Regions from separate parts of the Homo sapiens genome. Here regions 1, 2, 3, 4, 5 and 6 are each linked to region 7. Evidence: promoter capture Hi-C in 16 types of primary human blood cells and fetal thymus (Javierre and others, 2016). All regions are on one chromosome and are shown on one strand. Each heading gives the region's core, a stretch centred on a gene start or on the middle of the fragment in contact. The rest is flanking DNA. Distances are from core to core; before and after follow the strand shown. Region 1 overlaps STON2 (stonin 2). Region 2 overlaps CEP128 (centrosomal protein 128). Region 3 overlaps STON2 (stonin 2). Region 4 has its middle 11 kb from the start of LINC02308. Region 5 overlaps STON2 (stonin 2). Region 6 has its middle 17 kb from the start of STON2. Region 7 holds the start of TSHR (thyroid stimulating hormone receptor).

The links. The method cuts DNA at HindIII sites, captures the fragments that hold promoters and counts their contacts. A CHiCAGO score of 5 or more calls a contact.
Region 1: a fragment that was not itself captured here is called in contact with the fragment with the promoter of TSHR in region 7 in 2 of 17 cell types (total CD8 T cells and neutrophils); the score reaches 6.1 in total CD8 T cells.
Region 2: a fragment that was not itself captured here is called in contact with the fragment with the promoter of TSHR in region 7 in 1 of 17 cell types (fetal thymus); the score reaches 5.5 in fetal thymus.
Region 3: a fragment that was not itself captured here is called in contact with the fragment with the promoter of TSHR in region 7 in 16 of 17 cell types (fetal thymus, non-activated CD4 T cells, activated CD4 T cells and 13 more); the score reaches 12.6 in fetal thymus.
Region 4: a fragment that was not itself captured here is called in contact with the fragment with the promoter of TSHR in region 7 in 12 of 17 cell types (fetal thymus, total B cells, non-activated CD4 T cells and 9 more); the score reaches 12.8 in fetal thymus.
Region 5: a fragment that was not itself captured here is called in contact with the fragment with the promoter of TSHR in region 7 in 2 of 17 cell types (neutrophils and monocytes); the score reaches 5.2 in neutrophils.
Region 6: a contact is called between a fragment that was not itself captured here and the fragment with the promoter of TSHR in region 7, in 3 of 17 cell types (monocytes, non-activated CD4 T cells and neutrophils). The highest score is 8.4, in monocytes.

The regions. Positions count from the first base shown.
Region 1 is chr14:81,297,323-81,300,277 of GRCh38, forward strand. The region is part of intron 5 of STON2 (stonin 2); the gene reads right to left. Among named protein-coding and RNA genes, the nearest start is that of GTF2A1-AS1, 78 kb to the left of the region's middle. The HindIII fragment of the contact is 3,420 bases long and covers 1-2,955 here.
Region 2 is chr14:80,608,401-80,611,291 of GRCh38, forward strand. The region is part of intron 19 of CEP128 (centrosomal protein 128); the gene reads right to left. Among named protein-coding and RNA genes, the nearest start is that of CEP128, 330 kb to the right of the region's middle. The HindIII fragment of the contact is 2,463 bases long and covers 357-2,819 here.
Region 3 is chr14:81,264,327-81,267,284 of GRCh38, forward strand. It overlaps STON2 (stonin 2), which reads right to left. Exons shown (of 8, transcript NM_001394390.1): 8 at 1-2,958. Among named protein-coding and RNA genes, the nearest start is that of GTF2A1-AS1, 45 kb to the left of the region's middle. RefSeq lists an enhancer at 1-32. The HindIII fragment of the contact is 2,875 bases long and covers 185-2,958 here.
Region 4 is chr14:81,437,887-81,440,851 of GRCh38, forward strand. No RefSeq gene overlaps it. Among named protein-coding and RNA genes, the nearest start is that of LINC02308, 11 kb to the right of the region's middle. The HindIII fragment of the contact is 5,276 bases long and covers 1-2,965 here.
Region 5 is chr14:81,387,648-81,390,856 of GRCh38, forward strand. All of the region lies in intron 3 of STON2 (stonin 2), which reads right to left. Among named protein-coding and RNA genes, the nearest start is that of STON2, 11 kb to the right of the region's middle. The HindIII fragment of the contact is 5,426 bases long and covers 1-3,209 here.
Region 6 is chr14:81,415,706-81,418,568 of GRCh38, forward strand. It overlaps a transcript of STON2 not described here. Among named protein-coding and RNA genes, the nearest start is that of STON2, 17 kb to the left of the region's middle. The HindIII fragment of the contact is 551 bases long and covers 1,233-1,783 here.
Region 7 is chr14:80,954,187-80,957,078 of GRCh38, forward strand. It overlaps TSHR (thyroid stimulating hormone receptor), which reads left to right and starts at 1,435. Exons shown (of 10, transcript NM_000369.5): 1 at 1,435-1,664. The coding sequence starts at 1,495. It also overlaps a transcript of CEP128 not described here. The HindIII fragment of the contact is 2,816 bases long and covers 238-2,892 here.

The DNA of each region.
Region 1 (2,955 bases), core at 49-2,548, 340 kb after region 7:
AGAGGTTAGGTGACATGGCCAAAGTTACAAAGCTAGTAAGAGGAAGAGCTAGGATCTGAACCCAAGAGGTCTGAGTTGGCAACCCTTAGTCTTAACCACTCTGGTATACTGCAGCATTTGGACTGTAGCTCTACATTGTTAGAACTGTCCAATCTTGAGCAAATTTCTCAATTTCTGAGTCTGTTTCCTCACTTTTAAGGAGGATAATGATATTTCCTATGCCCCACAATATGGTTGTGAGGACCAAATAAGACATGTGAATGCTACTGTAAAATATGGCATGCTATATGATTTAAATTATTTTCATTATTACTGGTAAAAAATGACAAGGAGCACTTATTCATTCATTTTGAGGTTTGAGGTTTGTTTTGCTTCGTATAGTATAAAACTTTCTAACTTTAATAATCAATAGAAAGTAATAAAAATAACTGGCCAGCTGGGCACAGTGGCTCACGCCTGTAATCCCAGCACTTCGGGAGGCCGAGACGGGCAGATCACCTGAGGTCAGGAGTTTGAGACCAGCCTGACCAACATGGAGAAACCCCATTTCTACTAAAAATACAAAATTAGATGGGTTTGGGGCGCATGCCTGTACTCCCAGCTACTCGGGAGGCTGAGGCAGGAGAATCGCTTGAACCTGGGAGGCAGAGGTTGTGGTGAGCCAAGATGGCGCCATTGCACTCCAGCCTGGGCAACAAGAGCAAAACTCTGTCTCAAAAGAAAAATAATAATAACTGATATTTATTGCCATGCACATTAAGTACTGAGAAAGAGGAGAAAACATTCCTTCTATCAGGAATCTGTAATTAGAAAGAAAAAAAGGAGTCAAATAGAGCTCCTTGTGGGGGCTCTATAATTCCAGCGATGAAGCCTATTCTAGATGCGGGTGCCCTTCCAGGAAGGAGAAATGAGCTATCAAGAAATTGTGAATCTCCAGATAATGACTTCCTGTTCCACAAAAACAAAGCACAGCAGCTGGAAATAACAGTCTATCTCCAATCCCTATTCCACATCCTAGGGCTGTCATCCACAGACTAGTCTGAGGGAGGCTTCCTCTAGCTCCAGGCCTCTAAAGCCTCAACTGCTTCAGATGGGGGGGGGGAATCACAGAATTTAAAAGCCAAACTTACTAAGAATTACCCCTGAGCAAAGTCACCCTGGACTCAGACTCCATCTGTTGCAAGTCATTAAATTCCCAAGCGCGGCTGAAATCCCTGATCTATATACCTCTGTCATGACACACACAATCTGTTGGTGTTTATTTTCCTGCTCTGGTAAGTTCCCAAGGAAGAGAAACTACAGAAAAGCATGTTGAACAGAACCATGCTAGGAGTTTCATCCAGGAAACTGAAGTTGGGACAGATGAAAAAATGAGCACCTTCTAAAATTAAATGATTAAAGGATCAACAGAGAAATCCTTAGTCACCCACCACGAAATGGTTTGTGAATATGTTGCTCTCAGAGATTTAAGAAACACCCATATCCAAGCAAGGTGAGTTGGATATAATTTTAGAAAGACTTGGTAGAAATGTGTTTGAAGTGTATTAATCTGTAATCTAATTAATTATATAGAATTTTAAAACTTTTTAAAACACAATTCATCCATGTCACTAAAGAAATTTAGAAAATACAGACAAGAGAACGACATAAAAAGTACCCAAAGTCCCACCTCTACCACCAAAATAAGAGACATCTGTTTTGTTAAGAAGGTTGATAAAGGAAAAACTGAAAATAGCAACAGCCCAAAACACTCATAAGTTCTAGCCACATGGCTCAGATCAAGTGACACCAAACTGTATTTGGTACTAGAATCATGGTGGTCACTTTAAACCACATGCCTGGGCTTGTCTTAGGCAACTCTTCTGCATCCACCAGGAATATTGCAGAAGTTACCCATACATGCACAGAATTAACGTGTTATACAAACATATATGTGAGACTATCTCAATAAAGGTAGAAAAAGTATGGTAAAATTTAACTTACATTAACTGTAATAGTAATACTATTATCACCATACTAAGAATGGAAGGGAACTTCCTCAACCTGATAAAGGGCATATACAAAAAGAAAACCCTCAGCTAACATCACAATGGTGAAATATTGAAAGTGTTCCTCCCAGTCTCACCTATTCAGCGTTGTAATGGAGTCCTTAGGCATTGCAACAAGGCAAGAAAAAGGAATAAAAAGTAAAAGAAAGAGGTTGAGCCCTGTGGCTAACTTATGAGCATTTTGGGCTGTTGCTGTTTTCAGTTTTTCCTTTATCAACCTTCTTAACAAAAGTAAAAATAATTGTAAAACTGAATACAGCAAGTCCTCAGGATACAAAGTCATTCTTTAAAAACTCAATTATATATTAAAATACTAGTAACAAGTCAACTGGAAATAAGACCTCTAAAAATATTGTTTACTATAGCATAAAAATATCAACTACATAGAAGTAAACTTAATAAAAGATGTGTAAGGCCTCTTCACTGTTGAGAGAAGTTAAAGAAGGCCTAAATAAATGGAGAGATTTCATGTTCATGGATTTGAAAACTCAAAATTGTTAAGATGGAAAAAAAATTTTTTTTTTTTTTAAATTGATCTATAGAATCAATATGATTCCAATAAAAACTCCCAGGCTTAAAAAAATTTTTTTGATAGTTGGTCAATTTCTATCAAAGCCTATCAATCACCAAGACAATCTCAAAGAAGAAAAATGTTGTAGGACTCAAAACTACCAAATTTCAAGATTGACTATAAAGTTTCAGTAATTAAGACAATCTCATAGGAAAGATAAATAAGTTAATGGAACAAAATGAAGAGTGTAGAAGTGGACCCACGCATGTAAAGTCACTTGAGTTTGGGCAAAGATGCCATGGAATTCAAGAAAAAAAGTTCTCAATAAAACATCCTGGAGCAACTAGATATCCATACAGAAAAAGTAGACCTTTACCCTTCCTTCTCTCTCTCTGT
Region 2 (2,891 bases), core at 338-2,837, 350 kb before region 7:
TGTAAAATTGAACTTTATACAACACAGACAACATCTCATTTTACACTCTTACTGTCCTCTAACACCAAGCTAGTCTTGCTTAAAATCAATCATTTCCCATTGCTTTTAGACTATAATCTACATTCCCGGCAGGACCCAAAAAGCTTCTCATGGATTCAACTCTGTTTAATTTTCCAGTCTCACCTTTCACCATCCCTTTCCATATTCTAAATTCTGATCACACTAAACTATTTGCAGCTCTTAAATGTATCATGCTCTCTTGAACCTCTAAATCTACATCTGTTTCTTCTGCCTGGAATGCCCTGCCTACCCTGTTTACCCTGGCTAACTCTTACTTGTCCTTCAGGATCCAGCAAAGCTTTCCCACGTGGGGTTAGATACTGTTAGTAATTGCTCTCACAGTCAGTACCCTGTGCCTTGCTTTAACACAGCACTGTCACATTATTTCTAAAAATAATAATGGTTTTCTTATTTACCTGATCTCCCTCCCCTATTAATTGAGAGCTCTTTGGGAACCACCAGGCATCTCTTTGCACTTATTCAACACAGTACCTGGAACCAGTAAACACTTAATAAATATTGACTATAGGAATGCATATTAAAAATGTATATTGAAGATTGAAGTATATTACATTTTTTGAGATTTGAGAGATTTCTGAACCATGACTTGGGACTATTAGAGACATACTAATGATACTGCAAAGACTAAGATTATAAATTTCTACAGTAGAGCTTTCATTTTCAATAAACCACATAATCAAATATTTGTTATATGTAATTTCAAATATAAAGCTGAGATATTTTAAACTCAGTAAAAGCATTTGGATAAGTAAATATTATGTAATTGGGAAGGGCTAGGCATGACTCATTTTTTTTTTCCAAAAAGTAACCTTGGTTAATATTTCAAGATTTGCCTATAAACTGAGCTTCCTTGTCTGTGACTGACTTTGAACCTTTTAAAACCAAAACATTAAGTTAGATATCTTGAAGTTCACTGCATGTATATAAGGAATTTTATATTATTAAGATGTGAATTTAGGGATCCCATTATTATGGTTCCCTCTGGCCCCCACCCCCATCCACTGGGTATTTGGGTGTCCATTTTCCCACATGGTGATGGATTTGCACTTTGCTTCATCAGGTCTCCCTTGGGCCAAGAACACATTTTAGCCATAATTATTGGAGCAGTCTGTGGCAGTGGAAAACCAAAGTTAACTGAACCACATGGAAATAAAACCCATGTCATTGGTGTCATTACCAGTACACCCTAACCAACAGAGTTAACCTCAATGTAAACAGCAGGCAAAAATAGCAAAACACTCCATCTTTTGGAGAAATCAGTCCGTTTGGAAAGAATGCAATAAGAAGGAAACACCTGAACTCATTTTTTTTGGACTAAAATGAGATACAAGTACTGATTTCTTTTTTTTTAAAATTATATATGTATGTGAGTCAAAAAAAAATCACACAGTTGGAAAAAAAAATGTTCACAGTGAAAAACATTCTTCACTCTCCAGTACTCAACACTGACTGCCCATCTCTCAGGTACCCTCAAGAGTCAACTTCTATTACCACTGTCTAAATTTTATTTCCATCTCAGTGTACTTGTTTATGATTATGCTATGTGTGTGTGCATGCATACAGTCATCTCCCTTTAATAAATGGTAGCACGTTATATACCCATTTTTAAAAATAATATATAAAACTTTCATCTGAAATTTATTCTGCTGAAAGCAGCGCAGTATGAATCATACTTTATCTCTTTTTTTCCAAATAAATGTCTATTGGTCAAAACCATTTATAGAATTATCAATCTTTCCCCCACTTATTTGAAATAAAATCTTACTGGGAACTAAGCTCTGTATATGTTTGAGTATATATCTAGGAATGCTACTGTTTTTATCATCTGTCTGATTATTTACTACTATCACTAATTTAACATTGTTTTATGTTTTGATAACTTAGAAGAGGTATAAACAGTAACATATCATGTAGTAAGAGACATAGATTGCTAAGTGTGGTACTGTTTTATAAATACTAAAAACTATAATTCATGGGATATTTTCATCAATATTGAACCTTAAATATTAACACATAATATGAGGATCAAACCTTTGGTTTAACAATCAAGTAAAAAGCATGAACACAATATTGGTATTATATGGGAAAACATATTTTCATTCACTCTTAGTAAGAGCATAAATCAGTACCTTATGGGAGAACATTACACAAACCCTACCAAAATTAACAATCCGTGTACTCTTTGACTTACCAATTCTACTTCTAGGAATTCATTCCACAGCCATACTTTCACTAGTGCAAAATGACTTATGCATGTTATTATTCACTGCAGTGTTACAGCAAAAACTGAAGGCATCTTAAATTTAAATCAGTAGGGAAACTTGTTAAATAAATTATATTCATACGATGGAGTTTCTACATAGTTATTAAAAAAGAACGAGGAAGTTCATTATACATTAATATAGAGAAATCTCCAAGAAATGGTAAGTAAAAAGTAAGATATTGAACAGCGGGTGGTATGCCATCATCTAGGTAAAAATGAATAGAAAAAAATGCATTCTTATTTACTCATATATGTATAAGTTATGCCTGGAAGGATACATATAAAAATAGGAGCATGCAACAGTGCAGCAAAGGAATAGAACTGAGAGTTCTATGTATTTTTCAGTAAATCTTTTAAAGTATCATTTTAGTTTTAAATCTTGGGATTAATGGTAAAACATATTTATTGAGAACCTATTATGTTTGAAAAACTATAAGATAAGGAGTTTTCACTTTTGTTTTAAATTATTCAATTAAGCTTTATTAAACATTCAAAGACTAAAGAGAAAATATTAAGAACCTTACATTGCCATGAATTATTAAAGAAA
Region 3 (2,958 bases), core at 372-2,871, 310 kb after region 7:
AGCATGCTTGCTGGCTTTATTATGAGTATTTGATGATAAGTAAGGGTTAAGTAGCCTTCGAGTCTCAGGGTCAGTATTCTTTCAGCAAACATTTATTGAATACATACTCATTTTCCTTTATTTCATGAGTATACGTTTGCCCTCCTGGCAAGCATTTAAGGTGGCTGAACCCTATTATATTCCAAGCTTTGTGCTAGGTGTTGGAAACACAAAAAATTATATATAGTCCTTGCCTTCATGGATCCCATTTATCAGAAACATAAGTTTCTAGGGAAATAAACTCTTACTCCCAGCCACTGGATTTGAATAGAAATCAGTCTCATTTCAAATAAAAAATATTTTAAATCAAACAATGTTCTCAAGGATTATGAACCCTGCCAATAATGCAGGAAGGCACAGTAAGGGAAGAGCCAAATAGAAAAAATGAAACTGTCCAGATAATATTTAATATGAATGAAATGCAAACTTTTGATAAGGAATAACTAGTACTATGTCTGCAAGAGCAGGCAAGGGGGATCATCTAATGGTCTCCCCACAAAGTGCCTCACATTGTCTTGTCTGACATGTCATGAGTACATTTCTTATCTTTTTGCTGTAAAGTCAAAAAGCAGGCCCTAGACTCAAAAGAAAGCACAGCTCTTGATACCACGTGATATCTAATTTATGTTCTAAGAGTAATACTATGTACTGGTAAAATGAATTCATTTTTAATATTTTCACATTATTGATAACAAAGATTATTTGTGACCACAAAAAAAAAAAATAAAAAGTCCAGGTCCAGGGTTGCAAAAGTAGAATCTGCATATCCACAGGTAATTTGCCCAACTGTTTTCTATGTAGGTTATTACATAGCTAATTTGCCCACTTGTATTTTCTTTAGAAGTTATTTAAACCTAGTAAAACACTCATTACGTCTAAAAATATATAGTATTATTATCCCCAAACCCCTAAATGCTACCCATAATCAGTTTCCTAAAAACAGTAGAGGGAAAACAAATTTGATGAAATTAAGATGTTAGGTTTTTAAAAATTAATAATAATTTGTGGGTCCAGCATGGTGGCTCACGCCTGTAATCCCAGAGCTTTGGGAGACTGAGGCAGGCTTATCACCTGAGGTCAGACATTCGAGACCAGCCTGGCCAACATGGTGAAACCCCATCTCTACTAAAAATACATAAATTAGTGGTGCATGGTGGCAGGCGCCTGTAATCCCAGCTACTCAGGAGGCTGAGGCAGGAGATTTGGGAGGCAGAGGTTGCAATGAGCCGAGATCACGCCATTGCACTCCAGCCTGGGCGACAAGAGCGAAACTTTGTCTCAGTAATAATAATAATAATAATAATAATAATACTCTGTCTCAATAATAATAATAATAATAATTTGTTTGCAGAATATAGATAGCATAGAAGGGATTTTTCCCAACTCTTGGTAAAAAAAACAAAAAAGTCCAGGTGCATGTACACAGGAAATGAGAATTTACCATGGGGGGCGGGGAAATAAGCTCCAACAAGCAATCCACATGTTATGCTAGCAGATGAGGCAGAGATCTTGACAGAGTGCTAAGCGTGAGTGACTAAGGAAGGTGCTGGGATGAGCTTCATTTCCCTTGCCAACTCTCCAATCCATTTAGATGTTCTATGAGGAATTAATCTCAAAAGCCTTCAGTACAACAGGGGAAGAGATATGCGTTGAAATTCCTTGACAAAAACCTCAAAGGAACTCCACTGTATTTCAAAGAGCATGAAAAACCACTTATGAAGAAAAAGACAAATGAAGTTAGAGAGTCTTATTACTATTGAGACTAAACCTATATTTAGAAGGAATCTTGGTAGACATATAGACCAAATCCAATGTAAGATTCCCTTTCACAGCACGTGGGATAGGTGGTTATTTTAACTGTTGGGCATTCACAGGAACAGGAAATCTTACTAACTTGAGTCTATTCCTCTTTAGAACAACTCTTATTAGACAATTCTTCCTTATATTGAAGCAAACATTTGTCACCTGTAAAGTTCCTCTTTGTTCTTATTTTTGCCCTTTGAAGCTACACAGAATAAATCTAATTCCTCTTCCTTTTCATAGCTCAATAGAAATTTCTAGGCAGCTATTGTATCATTCCCTCCTTGTCTGCACTCCCTTTCCAGCTATACCTTCTGTTCCTTCAGGGAAGCTACTCCCTTGTTCTTGCATCATCAGACCCTTTACAACCCTGGTCACCTCCCTATGGACACAATCAACTTATTAATGTCTCTCTTAAAATATGATACCCATAATTGAACTCAACCCTCCATTTAGATATGGACTAGATGGAGGGTTAATAAAAGCATGTAAGGCTTTTATTAACACCAGCTGACTACATTAGCTTTGTGAATAGCCATGATATATTTCTGATTCAACATTGAACCTCCATTTCTGTAAGGAAATATTTCTCTATAAACTACCGTGAAACCAGGTCTTCCTAACACCGTTCCCATCAACACCACACACATAAACACACACAAACACACACATCCACAAACACACACTCCACTCTGTACTTAGAGGGTTGCATTTTAAAAACCCAGAATATAGGGTTTCTCATTAATGCCTATTCAATCATCATTTTACTTTCAGTCTTAGTTCAGATATTTCAAAATACTGTAACTATTTCTATATCCCAGTGTCAATACACATTTAGACTCCAATGATTGTTCATTGAATACATTAATCTTGAATCCATCAGCCAAAAACTGGAGATATTTTTCATTTCTGCATCATCTACAAATCCAATGAAGTGTGCTTTCTGTCCCCCGACTTGTATTCTTCATGGGAGAAAACACTAAGATACAAATAAGAAGCAGAGGTGAGTAGGAACGGATGAAGGAAAAGAAGATTAATTGTCCCAGAAACAGATGAAGAAAAAGAAGATGGAGTGAGCGTTCTGACTCTTGGAATCAGAATATAATGTTCCCAACATTA
Region 4 (2,965 bases), core at 112-2,611, 480 kb after region 7:
TCGCTCTGTCGCCCAGGCTGGAGTGCAGTGGCACGATCTTGGCTCTCTGCAACCTCTGCCTCCCGGGTTCAAGCTATTCTCATGCCTCAGCCTCCTGAGTAGCTGGGATTACAGGCACGTGCCACCACGCCCGGCTAATTTTTGTATTTTTAGTAGAGACGGGGTTTCACCATGTTGGCCAGGCTGTCTCAAACTCCTGGCCTCAAGTGATCGGCCCGCCCCGGCCTCCCAAAGTGCTGGGATTACAGGCGTAAGCCACCGCGCCGGGCCTCAGTTGATTCACTTTATATTGAATAGGTGGACACGCATGGGTTGAACCTCACCTGGGAGGAACACCAGACAGAGCACGGGGTGGTGTGGACTGTGTGAGGAGAGTTCTTTCATGGGCATCCCTCTCCAAGCATCGGAAGCACATGGAGACATCAGCCCATAATTCAGGTTGCTGGCTTTCCATAGCTGTGGCTTCTGCCAAAGCAGAAGTTCCATTTGGATTGGTCAAACTATCACTCCAAAGAAGAAGGACTGTTTCAGCCAGAGAACCAAGCTGACCCAAGATGGTTTGTCAAACTGCTCAACCCTCATCACATCACATTAAACTCAGCCCAGGGATGACAAGTGAAAGGATGGCAAATGAAGGAAGAGTGACAAGTGAAAGAAGAACCTGAATTCTACTTCCATTACCTTGGAATCTTACTGAGGCCAGGAACTGCTTATGTCTTGGTCTGTTCTCTGTCTCTAGCAAAATGCTTTATTTAGTTCGCCCCCTGTATCGCATTTCTTCCCTGGTGACTACTGCTTAGTGCTCAAAACTCAAATATTCTTTCCTCTGTGAAGCCTTCACTCATTCTCCCAGGCTAAGCTGTGAACCTCTTGCCGGTCTTATATTCCCATAACATCAATAAGCAACAGCATTCTAGTGATCTGCTCAAATGGCCATCTTTCTAACTAGCACACTGTGCATTACTTAGCGATGTATCCTCAATCAGTGTATCCCCAATTAAGTAGGTACTTAATAAACATGAAGTGACTGATGAAAACCCCTGACAGGCTAATAGGGTGGTATTAAGGAGACTAGGGCCACACCCTATCGTGGTCTTCAACAGGGCATTCTTCAGTTCCAGACTGGAAGGATATTTGGTGTGGAGCAAAGCGATCATCCATCCAATCCAACAATAATAGGTAGTTTCTGTGTGTCAAGCACTGTCAGGCCAAGAGAAGAATAAGCTCTTCTTTAAATGAACACAAGGTGAAGTGGTGCAGTTAATTTACAAGACAGTTTTGCTATTTCTCAAAAAGTTAAACATAGAGTTACCATATGACCCAGTAATTCCATTCCTTGATATACACCCAAGAGAACTGAAAGCATATGCCTACACAAAAACTTGTGCACAAATGTTCGTAGCATCATTATTCATAATAGCTGAAGGTAGAAACCACCCAAACGCCCGTCGATTAATGATAGATAAACAAAATGTATTAAATAGCACAGAAGGTCCTCCAATAACGTTGTTTCATTAGGATGTTGATGAGAAAAAAAAGATCAACTCCCAGCTGAAAGTTTGCATGTTCTCCCCACATCTGCATGGGTTTTCTCCAGGTACTCCAGTTTCCTTTTGCATTCCAAAGATGTGCACATTAGGTTCATTGGCATGTCTAAATTGTCCCAGAATGAGAGTGATGTGTGTGTGTGTGTGTGTGTGTGTGTGTGTGTGTGTGTGTGTGTCTGAGAGAGAGAGAGAGAGAGAGGCTTGCGATGGAATGATGTCCTGTTTGGGACTGGTTCCCTGTTGGCGTGCTGAGCAGCCAGATGGGCTCCAATCACCTGAGACCTTGAACTGGAGTAATGGGGCAAATAATTATCTTACTTGTTTTTATTAATCTTTTAAAAGTGTACATATAGCTCACATTTATTTCCAAATTTAATATTAGAAGGATTTTTGCTCTTTATTTAGCAGTTTGGTGATGTTTTTGTGACCAGAAATGTGCTGGAGGAACTTTATTCTTGTTTATGTCAATTCCCTTATGGGAAAATTGGGGGTTTTTATACATTGTTTTGCTTAAAGGTTGCCGTTTCAAGAACCTATCAATGACAATAAGTGAGAACTTACTGTATATCCACATAATGGAATATTATTCAGGCATAAAATAAATGAAGTACTGATAAAAGCCAAAATATGGATAACTCTAGAAAACATCATGCTATGTGAAAGAAGCCCGAAACAAAAGGCCACACACTGTATGATTCTATTTACATGAAATATTCAGAATAGGCAAATCCACAGAGACAGAAAGCAGATTAGTGGTTGCCAAGGGGAAATGAGGAGTGACTGCTTAATGGCTATGAACTTTCTTTTTGGGGTGATGAAAATGTTCTGTAATTAGTGGTTATGGTTATACAACTTTGTGAATGTGCTAAAAACCACTGAATTGTTAAAGAAAATTCACTGCATGCTCTCTGAGAATACATACATTCTGAAAGTGTGGAAACCATCAGTAATGGACGTGTTGGTTAAATCCTACGGTATAGTAGCTAAAAGTGAAAAGGAACTTTTCCAAGCCTGTGAAAAGCAGTTAAATGTGGCTCCCACCTTCAGCATCCCAGAGAAGATGTACTCTTTAGATCTGCGTTTTTCAACTGAATGTTCTGAGATGATGGAAATGTTCTTTATCTGAGCTATTTAATATGGAAGCCACTAGGCATGTGTGGCTATTGGACACTTGAAATGTGATTAGTGCAATTTGAAGAACTGAATTTTAAATTGTGTTGAAATTTAAATAGCCACATGTGGTTAGAGGCTACCAATACAGCAGTGCAGCTCTTGCTGGCTTGGAGGACTAGCGCCATTTTAGTCGGCAGTTTGGAAGAATACTGGTGGTCATGGGTGTGGGTAAATCTGTGTCTTTATGTCTCACACCCAGATCAACCCTGTATCCACTAGAAACCCTTCATAAGATCTCACAGCTC
Region 5 (3,209 bases), core at 572-3,071, 430 kb after region 7:
GGAGGCTGAGGTGGGTGGATCACCCACCAGAGGTCAGGAGTTCAAGACCAGTCTGGCCAACATGGTAAAACCCATCTCTACTAAAAATACAAAAATTAGCCAGGCATGGTGGCGGGTGCCTGTAGTCCCAGTAACTCAGGACGCTGAGGCAGGAGAATCACTTCAACCCAGAAGCGGAGGTTGCAGTGAGCTGAGATCACACCACTGCACTCCAGCCTGGGTGACAAGAGTGAGACTCAGTCTCAAAAAAAAAAGGCTTTTGTCACTCTCATTTTATTTTAATCATATTTTTATTTCTTTTCTTTTTTTTTTTTTTTTTTGAGATGGAGTCTCACTCTGTCACCCAGGCTGGAGTGCAGTGGCACAATCTTGGCTCACTGCAACCTCCGCCTCCCAGGTTCAAGCGATTCTCCTGCCTCAGCCTCCCAAGTAGCTGAGACTACAGGCACCCACCACCACACCCAGCTAATTTTTGTATTTTTAGTAGAGATGGCGTTTCACCATGTTGGCCAGGCTGGTCTCAAACTCCTGACCTTGTGATCCGCCTGCCTTGGCCTCCCAAAGTGCTGGGATTACAGGCGTGAGCCACCGCACCTGACCAATTTTAATCATATGTTTCTAAGGGAGACTGTATATCTCCTTTTTTCCCTGGCCAACCGTGATGGCACTTATTCACTTCAAACCCTGCCCTAATTAAAGTCCAAGAGAAAGTTGTTGCCTTGATGATTTAAGCATTTCTGGAGTTGTTTTTCCTACCAGCTGTTGCTCCTGGTTTTCCAATCAACCTTGGTATGCTTCAGTGCACAATAAAATAAGTAGCAGCCAGGTCACTAGGGTGGGGACTAACAACTCCCTGGCTTCTCTAAGGTTCTCAGTGCAGCTTCTAGCCATTTAAATACCATCAAAAATAAGAGACGTACCATTAATGACAGTCTCTTTGTCCCTAACTCCACTGTGCCTACAGCCTTGTTGCATTTTAATTAGGGCAAATAGTACATTCCAATTCCAGGCTGAAGTCCAATGCTCGCTTGGCTTTATTCTTAGGTGGCACAGTTTAAAAGATGTATTCTTTTGATTTTTACTCTTCATCTGCCAGAAAAACTTCAAAGAGTGGAAGAAAGGGAATTGGGGGATGGAAAAGGAATATCCCGGATAACCTCGCTACTTCCTCTGTGTGTGTTATGTGTGTGTGCTAGTCTCTTTCCCAACTTCTCTCTACAAGCCAGGATGTTCAGGTATAAAACAGCTGGCTAAGTAAGGTTTCACTTTTTCTTCCAGAAATTAAAACTAGGAAGAACACTGATCAGTTCTACTTCTCCTCCTCCTTCTCCTCCCACCACCTTTTTCTCTTACGACCTTCTCACAAAACAACATCCACAGAGGGGTTGCACAAGACAGGTACCAAGATAAACATTTTTACATCTCTCCCAACATGAAGACATCCGATCAGAAAGTATGGGCTCTTAATAGAAGTAAATGGAATATGAAGAGTAAAATGGGAAGAAATTAAACACTGCAACTATACATTATATATAGGAAAGAGTCAGTTTGCTCCAGTGATGCTGATGTGATTGGGAAAAGGGCTAAAGCCAAAAATTAGTTTCCACTGTTCCTTTTTTTCCTGGCTGAAATTTTTTTCTTGCACGCACAGAGACACACCTACATACTCCAAACTTCACCAAAGATTCCAAATTTTTGCATTTAAATACAGCACACCAAACACCTCTCTTGCCCTAATTCCATTTCATTCTTGCGTTATCCATGCTAAAAAGAGTTTGCTCAGTCTACATGAGTGAAGCTATAGCCCAAAATAGATCTAACATCTGACTGATGGAAATTAATGAACTAAGAAAAGCATTTTAGAGTGGATAAATGAGAAATTGATGGGCAAATCATTTCTATGTGGTCAGTTTAGACAAAAAGCACGAGAGGGCCATTTTGTCTAAGCTGGTCACCTAGCCGCCAGCAAACTGGCCACTACTTGGCCCACAGCTAGGTGGCCAATTTAGACAAAAGTTTCTCCTAGGTCAGTAGTGCCTACTTTCTCCAAGTGAGGAAAACTGGATAAAACTGAGTAAGAGCTGTGGGGAAGCCCCAGAAGTAAACGATAATTAACAAGGGAAGTTGCTTTAAATTCTGATTTTCATCCTTCACAGGAAGAGACAATAGATGCACCTGTCATAAAATGAACTTCTCAGACAAGTAATTCTCCCAGCATCCACTTATTCCTTTGCTTCCTCAGAGCCAGTTTCAAATTCTCAGCTGTATGAAATGAAAAACGTAGGCCAGGCATGGTGGCTCATGCCTGTAATCCCAGCACTTTGGGAGGCCGAGGTGGGCCGATCATTTGAGGTCAGGAGTTTGTGACCAGCCTGGCCAACATAATGAAACCCATCTCTACTAAAAATACAAAAATTAGCTGGATGTGATGGCACACGCCGTAATCCCAGCTATTTGGGGGCTGAAGCAGGAGAATCACTTGAACCCAGTGAGCTGAGATTGCGCCACTGGACTCCAGCCTGAGTGACAGAGTGAGACTCCATTTCAAAAAAAAAAAAAAAGAAAAACTTAAAAACAGAAAGACAAGTAGTGGTTGAAAGACAACCGCAAGAGATGGTAATCACAGCAGCACAGGTTGGCTCTGGTTTGCTACTAGAGGATCCAGGAAGAAGCCCAGTGGATTTCTGCTCAATTCTGAGCACTGCGCTATGTCTTTGAATATCCACACCTAGCAGAACTATACAGAGGAAGTGCTTAGTAAATATCTGGTGACTCAATGAGTAAATTATAAGGAGCTGTAAGGTTTAGGGACAAAGCACACTGACATGCACACATCTCCTTAAGAAATACCCTGCATCGTGAGCTGGGATCGCGCCACTGCACTCCAGAGCCTGGGCAACAGAGCGAGACTCCGTCTCAAAAAACAAAACAAAAAACAAACAAACAAACAAACAAACAAAAAGTCCTGCATCATTACAGATTTACAGATGCTCCCCTAATTCAGACTGACTCATTCTCAGCCTTATGCAAAGGGTTCCATTTTAAGATTTTACAGACTTAGTACATTAGTTTCCTATGGCTGCTGTAACAAATTACCACAAACTTGGTATCTCAAAACAACAGTAATTTATTCTCTCACAGTTCTGGAAGCCAGAGTCTGAGATGAGAATCACTGTGCTAAAATCAAGATGTCAGCAGAACTGCACTCC
Region 6 (2,863 bases), core at 258-2,757, 460 kb after region 7:
ATAGCTGCCTTGCACATAGCAAAATTATATTACATTGTGGGTTTCTATGTATATGATTATACACTTAAGGTTTTAATTTGGTCCAATCAGAGAAGAAAATATATCCAAAAAAATCATAATATTTTTCTAATCCTGTCTTGGAGCTTCTTCAGTTTTTAATATTCTGAGAACTCAGAAAAAGCAAGGAACATAGGTCTCTCTCCACCACCTCTGAGAGGCCCTGAGCTTGCATGACAGCACAGGTTACTAAGGAGCATGACCAAAGGTCAGAAGCAGGGTGTGGGGAGCCCGGGGAGGCTTCCTGGAAGAGGCTGTATCTAACCTGAGTCTTAGGAGGATGCCTAGCATACCCTTCAGAGCACAAGCTCTTCGGGCAGCAGGCCAAGTCCCCCGTTGTTAACTCTAGCCATGGAACATCTCTGTCTCTGAAATGCTCTACGCCTGAGTTTCATCTAGTAGTATCTACCTCAGAGATTCTGTAAGATGCTGCAGGTAAACCTTTTCATGAATAATAAGCGCTCAGTCAATGCTATCTATTACCATTATTATTTCTACCCATAAAGATTGGGAGGAGTTAGCCTAGTCAAGAGAGAGAACAAGAACTTGCTGATTTCATTCCTGTGGTCATGGCATTCAGGAAGTGAAAGTGCAAAGAAGGAGGAGACCTTAGAAATTTCGGGAAAAAAAGGAAGTAGTGGTGTGAGCTTCAGCCTGAGACAGGAAAGAGCCTAGCTGGCTCAATGCGAGGCATCAGTTGGCCTAGAAATGAGTAGTGAGAGAAGGTACCGGAGGCAGGGTCAACACAGTGGACAACTTCAGGGCCCATTCCCATGGTCATCTATGTGAGCCATGCCCACGAAGAGTGTGTACCACACAGTCTGTGCAGTGGAAGGTGGCAACCTGCCTGTCTGGGTGCTCCACAGGCCCCTGAACAGAGGACACCGCTGCTATAATCGTCAGCCAAGGTGTCCTACTGCTGGTGTGGCCAAGTCATCTGGGCCATTTCAGTCAACAGGAGGCAGCACTGTGACCAAAGCTATGACCAACCTCTTTGGACCATAGGAAAACCATATCGAAGGGAGTCCAGTTGTGACATAAGGGTCTGGTTTTATCTAATTTATCAGTAGAGCTGCAGGCACACAAAACCTTTATGTTTAAAGCTCCTGCCAACACTCTCTATACCAAGAATAACAAGGATTAGAGGAAAACAGAGCTCCAGGCCACAAATCTCAAGCTTGGTGGGTAGCTCTACAATGAAGTCAGCTCAATGCAGATCTGTCTAGAAAAACATAGGGTTTTATTTCCCAGGTAGATGACGCAGAGGAAAAACTATTTCCCCCTTCCTCTTTTGTAAAAATCAAACTTTCCTTGTGGGTTGAACTGCCAACTCCCCTCAACTTGTTCCTGCCACTCAAGTCTTTAGCATCCCAAAAGGACTCACTGACACTCCATCCCTTGCATGCTTACACTCCCACAGCACTGTGTTGCACAACTCCAGGAGGTGCCATTCACACAATGCGACAAAAACCACGTTCTCTTATCTGACGCTGCCCCTAGAGCTATTCACCGCCCCGCCCCCGGCCCCCAGCTCTGCAACAGCACAGGCCCTCCCACATCACCATCCACACTGTAGAAAAGCAAAGAAATGTTGAATGTTCAGGAGAAAACCTTAACTGGGCAAAAAGATGAAAGTAGAGAAAACACCTTATAGCCACAGGAATCCTTGGTCTTGTTCTTTACTCAACAGAATAGAAGAAACAACAGTGATAGGAAATAACAATTAAGCTTGGGTGATAGGAGAATAGTAGTGCCATAGTATCTGAGGTAAGGGCAGAGAAGACCTCAATACATACCCTAAGGAAACTAGGAGTGGTCCCTTAAACTGTGCAATTAATTGGAGACAGGATAGGAAATACGTTTTTGGGATATGTTGAGATGCAAAGACTGTGAAAATGTAGATTTGGTGCCTAGAGAAAAATTACGGGTGAAAAGTTAGATTTTAGAGTCATCCAAGAAAAAACAAAGTATGCAGCCAAGGGAATGAATAGGTTATCAACAGGGGAAGTAAAAAGATAGAAGAAGATGACTGACTCTTGGAGCATGCCTACATAAGGGAGTGGGGCTGGGACGGGGGAAGTTAGACCCTCGGGTGACAGAGCCAGGCAGAGAGAGAGATAGAAAAACCAGAGGGCTCCAGGCTATGATGGCAAGAGGGAATTTTGAAAAAGAAGTTTTCTCTAGTGTCAAATGCTGAGGAGAGACATAAAGGGCCTTGAGTGGTCGCTGGTGACTTGAGAAAGCTTGCAGAGTTTAGCTTCTGGAGGGATGGACCCTTCCTGGCAGCATTTCTAGTGTTCAGAGCCATTACACAGAAGGAAAGTGTATTAGTCCATTTTCATATAAAGACATACCCAAGACTGGGCAATTTACAAAAGAAAAAGGTTTAACTGGACTTACAGTTCCACATGGCTGGGGAAGCCTCACAATCATGGCAGAAGGGAAGGAGGAGCAAGTCACATCTTACATGGATGGCAGCAGGCAAAGAGAGAGAGCCTGTGCATGGGAACTCCTCTTAATAAAACCATCAGATCTTGTGAGACTTATTCACTGTCATGAGAACAGCACAGGAAAGACCTGTCCCCATGATTCAATGACCTCCCACCAAGTCCCTCCTATAATACGTGGGAATTCAAGATGAGATTTGGGTGGGGACACAGCCAAACTGTATCAGAAAGCGACAAGCATTTGTAGAATAAAGTAGAACAGCTGAACTGGAAGCTTGATTGCAAGGAGTTAATAATAAACCCAGATTACAGTTTAAAGCTTAACGACTCTTAATACAGCTTTGTAAAAAAAAGGCAAA
Region 7 (2,892 bases), core at 185-2,684:
TTGAACCTCGGAGGCAAAGGTTGCAGTGAGCCGAGATCGCGCCATTGCACTCCAGCCTGGGCGACGGAGCAAGACTCCGTTTCAAAAGAAAAAAAAAAAGAAAAGAAAATTTGTGCATGTTGTATCAGCAGTTCATTCATTTTTATTGCAGAATAGTATTCCAATGTGGAGGTATCAGAGTTTGTTTATCCATTATCTAGTCGCGAGACACTTGGTTCGTTTAGTGGTTATGAATAAAGCTTCTGTAAAATTTGGAATACACATATTTTAAATGTACGGTTTAATGAATTTTGATAAATGTATACATCCACTTAACCTCCAGCCTAATTACGATATGGAAACCCTGTGTGTTCCCTCCTGTCTTTTTCTAGTCAATCTTTCCTAACCTTTATTCTGATTCCCATAACCACAACTTTTTCCTTCCTGTCCTAGCCAAGTTCATATAAAAGGAATTATGCAGTATAGAAGGAATTGACATTCCTTTTATCCCAAGAGGAATAAGTGATTGAAGACTTTTAAGAAGGAAATAGGCACAATCTGATTTATGTTTGTAATGATCTTTTTGGCTACTGTGCGAAGAATGGTGAGTATGCCACTTAAGTATTATTTTTCTTCCCATCTTCCAGGGGGAATATGACTCAATGAAATTCTTGGGTCGACCAGAATTTCCATACTGGACCCATTATTAAGGGAACCTGGAATTATTTCTGCCATTCCCGATTCTTCCCAGCAGATGGCCCCAAAGTTCAGTTCCTGAATTGCCTCGCGGAGCCGCGGGCTGCAACGTGAGGCGGCCGCTGCCAGTCGACTCAACCACCGGAGTGGCCCCTGCAGTTGGATAGCAACGAGAATCCTCCAGGGGTGCAGGGCGACGGCTTCGGCCGCACCGCGGGCTAGCCAGGGCTGCGTGCCCGCCTCTGACCCTCAGCAGAGGTGTCTCTGGCCAGGAGGAGCTGAAGTTCTGCAGGACATTGGTCCGCCCGCGGACAGTCCACTCCGCGGGGACTTTCTCTGGATAAGGAGTGCGTGCGAGTGGCTCCCAGGCAGACAGGGTGTCTAGAAGGCTACACGCTAGGGAAGGTGGCTCCTTGGATTTAAAGAGGAGGAAAGGAGGGGGCATCTAAACTAGGCTTTGGAGAGAACTAATGGGAGGGGCGCCCGGGGTGGGGGGGCGGGCTGGAAAACAGAGGGGACAGCCAGGACTGGTGTTGGGTGTCAGGGAACAGACGGAGCGGACTGCGTGGGTCCAGCCAAGGAAAGTGAAGCAAGCAGACTTGTTTGGGTCAAGGTTGCCTAGGGAAGCGGAGCACTTAAGTGCCTCTTTTTCCCCTTCTCCAGCCTCCTCCACAGTGGTGAGGTCACAGCCCCTTGGAGCCCTCCCTCTTCCCACCCCTCCCGCTCCCGGGTCTCCTTTGGCCTGGGGTAACCCGAGGTGCAGAGCTGAGAATGAGGCGATTTCGGAGGATGGAGAAATAGCCCCGAGTCCCGTGGAAAATGAGGCCGGCGGACTTGCTGCAGCTGGTGCTGCTGCTCGACCTGCCCAGGGACCTGGGCGGAATGGGGTGTTCGTCTCCACCCTGCGAGTGCCATCAGGAGGAGGACTTCAGAGTCACCTGCAAGGATATTCAACGCATCCCCAGCTTACCGCCCAGTACGCAGACTCTGTGAGTACCCGGGAGAGATCAGGGTAGGACCCAGAGATCAAGGGCATCTGCAGAGGTGGCCCGAAGTGCACAAAAGCAGCTCAATAACAGCCCGAAGTAGTGTGTGAGTGTGTGTATGTGTGAGTGAATGTCTGTGTGTGTAGATGTGTGTGTGTGCTAAAAACTTAATCGCCCACACTTGGGAAGGTATCATTGTTGACATCCTCATTCCCAACACAGGAAAATGTTACAAAACTTTGGTGTACAATGACCGTGAGAGCTGTTCTTTCCAACAAGCTGCTATTCAGCACTTTGCCTAACCCTGGTTGAATCTGTTTTATTTGAATTAATAAGGATAATGGCATCTCAGGAACTGACCTTTTTGATCTTACCTTGGGTAATAAAAAATTGCAAAAATATGTATTTCTCCTTTTTGTTTCTCTAGATGGGAGGTTATCTTAGCAGTTCTGCTGATTCATCAAATTGTTGACAAAGGTTTAAGCAGGGGCCCTTTTTAAAATGAACTGTCTATACAGTATCTGTAAGTTACTTACTCAAATGTGAACTGCCAGTGAAATAGTACGTCCAGAACCCTGCTTTGTGATAGAGGTATAAAGAAATGAAATTTCATAAAAGTATAGTACATTTATCTGCATGTTAAATGTTACCAGATTAGAAACCTGATGTTAAATAAGATTATACACACACAACCTGTTTCTTAACAGCAATTTAAATCAGTGATCATTGAAATTGTAGACAAAACCAAGGGAATAAAGTCTGTCTTGATTAGTTAAAAAGAGAACAGAAAGAAAGGACAGTAAAACAACCTAGGCTGGTTAAATCCAGTTAAGATAAAAAAAAATGCAGGTTATTAAAGAAAATGTTGATAGATGAAAAGAAATGGGAAAGTTGCACCTCTAGATTTTCTCAAGAATTTAGCTCATGAAGACTATTTAACAGTAGATGAATATTTGAGCACAGAGATATATTTCTGTGCTCAGAGATATCCTAGTGTCTTAGCACACCTGAATTAATTAGTTCAATAACCTCCAAACAGTGTGGTAGTCATTCTCCATGCTGCCACCACAGAATAAGATGTGTAAAAGGTGTAATGGCCTCTTGATTACACCTCTACATAGGTTGCTTGTCACCTCTAGAATAAAATTCTTTTGTGCAGCCTACCAGATCTTTCAAGACCTAGTCAAGTCTTTCCAACCTCATTGCTCCTCATTTCTCTAACTTCCCCCTC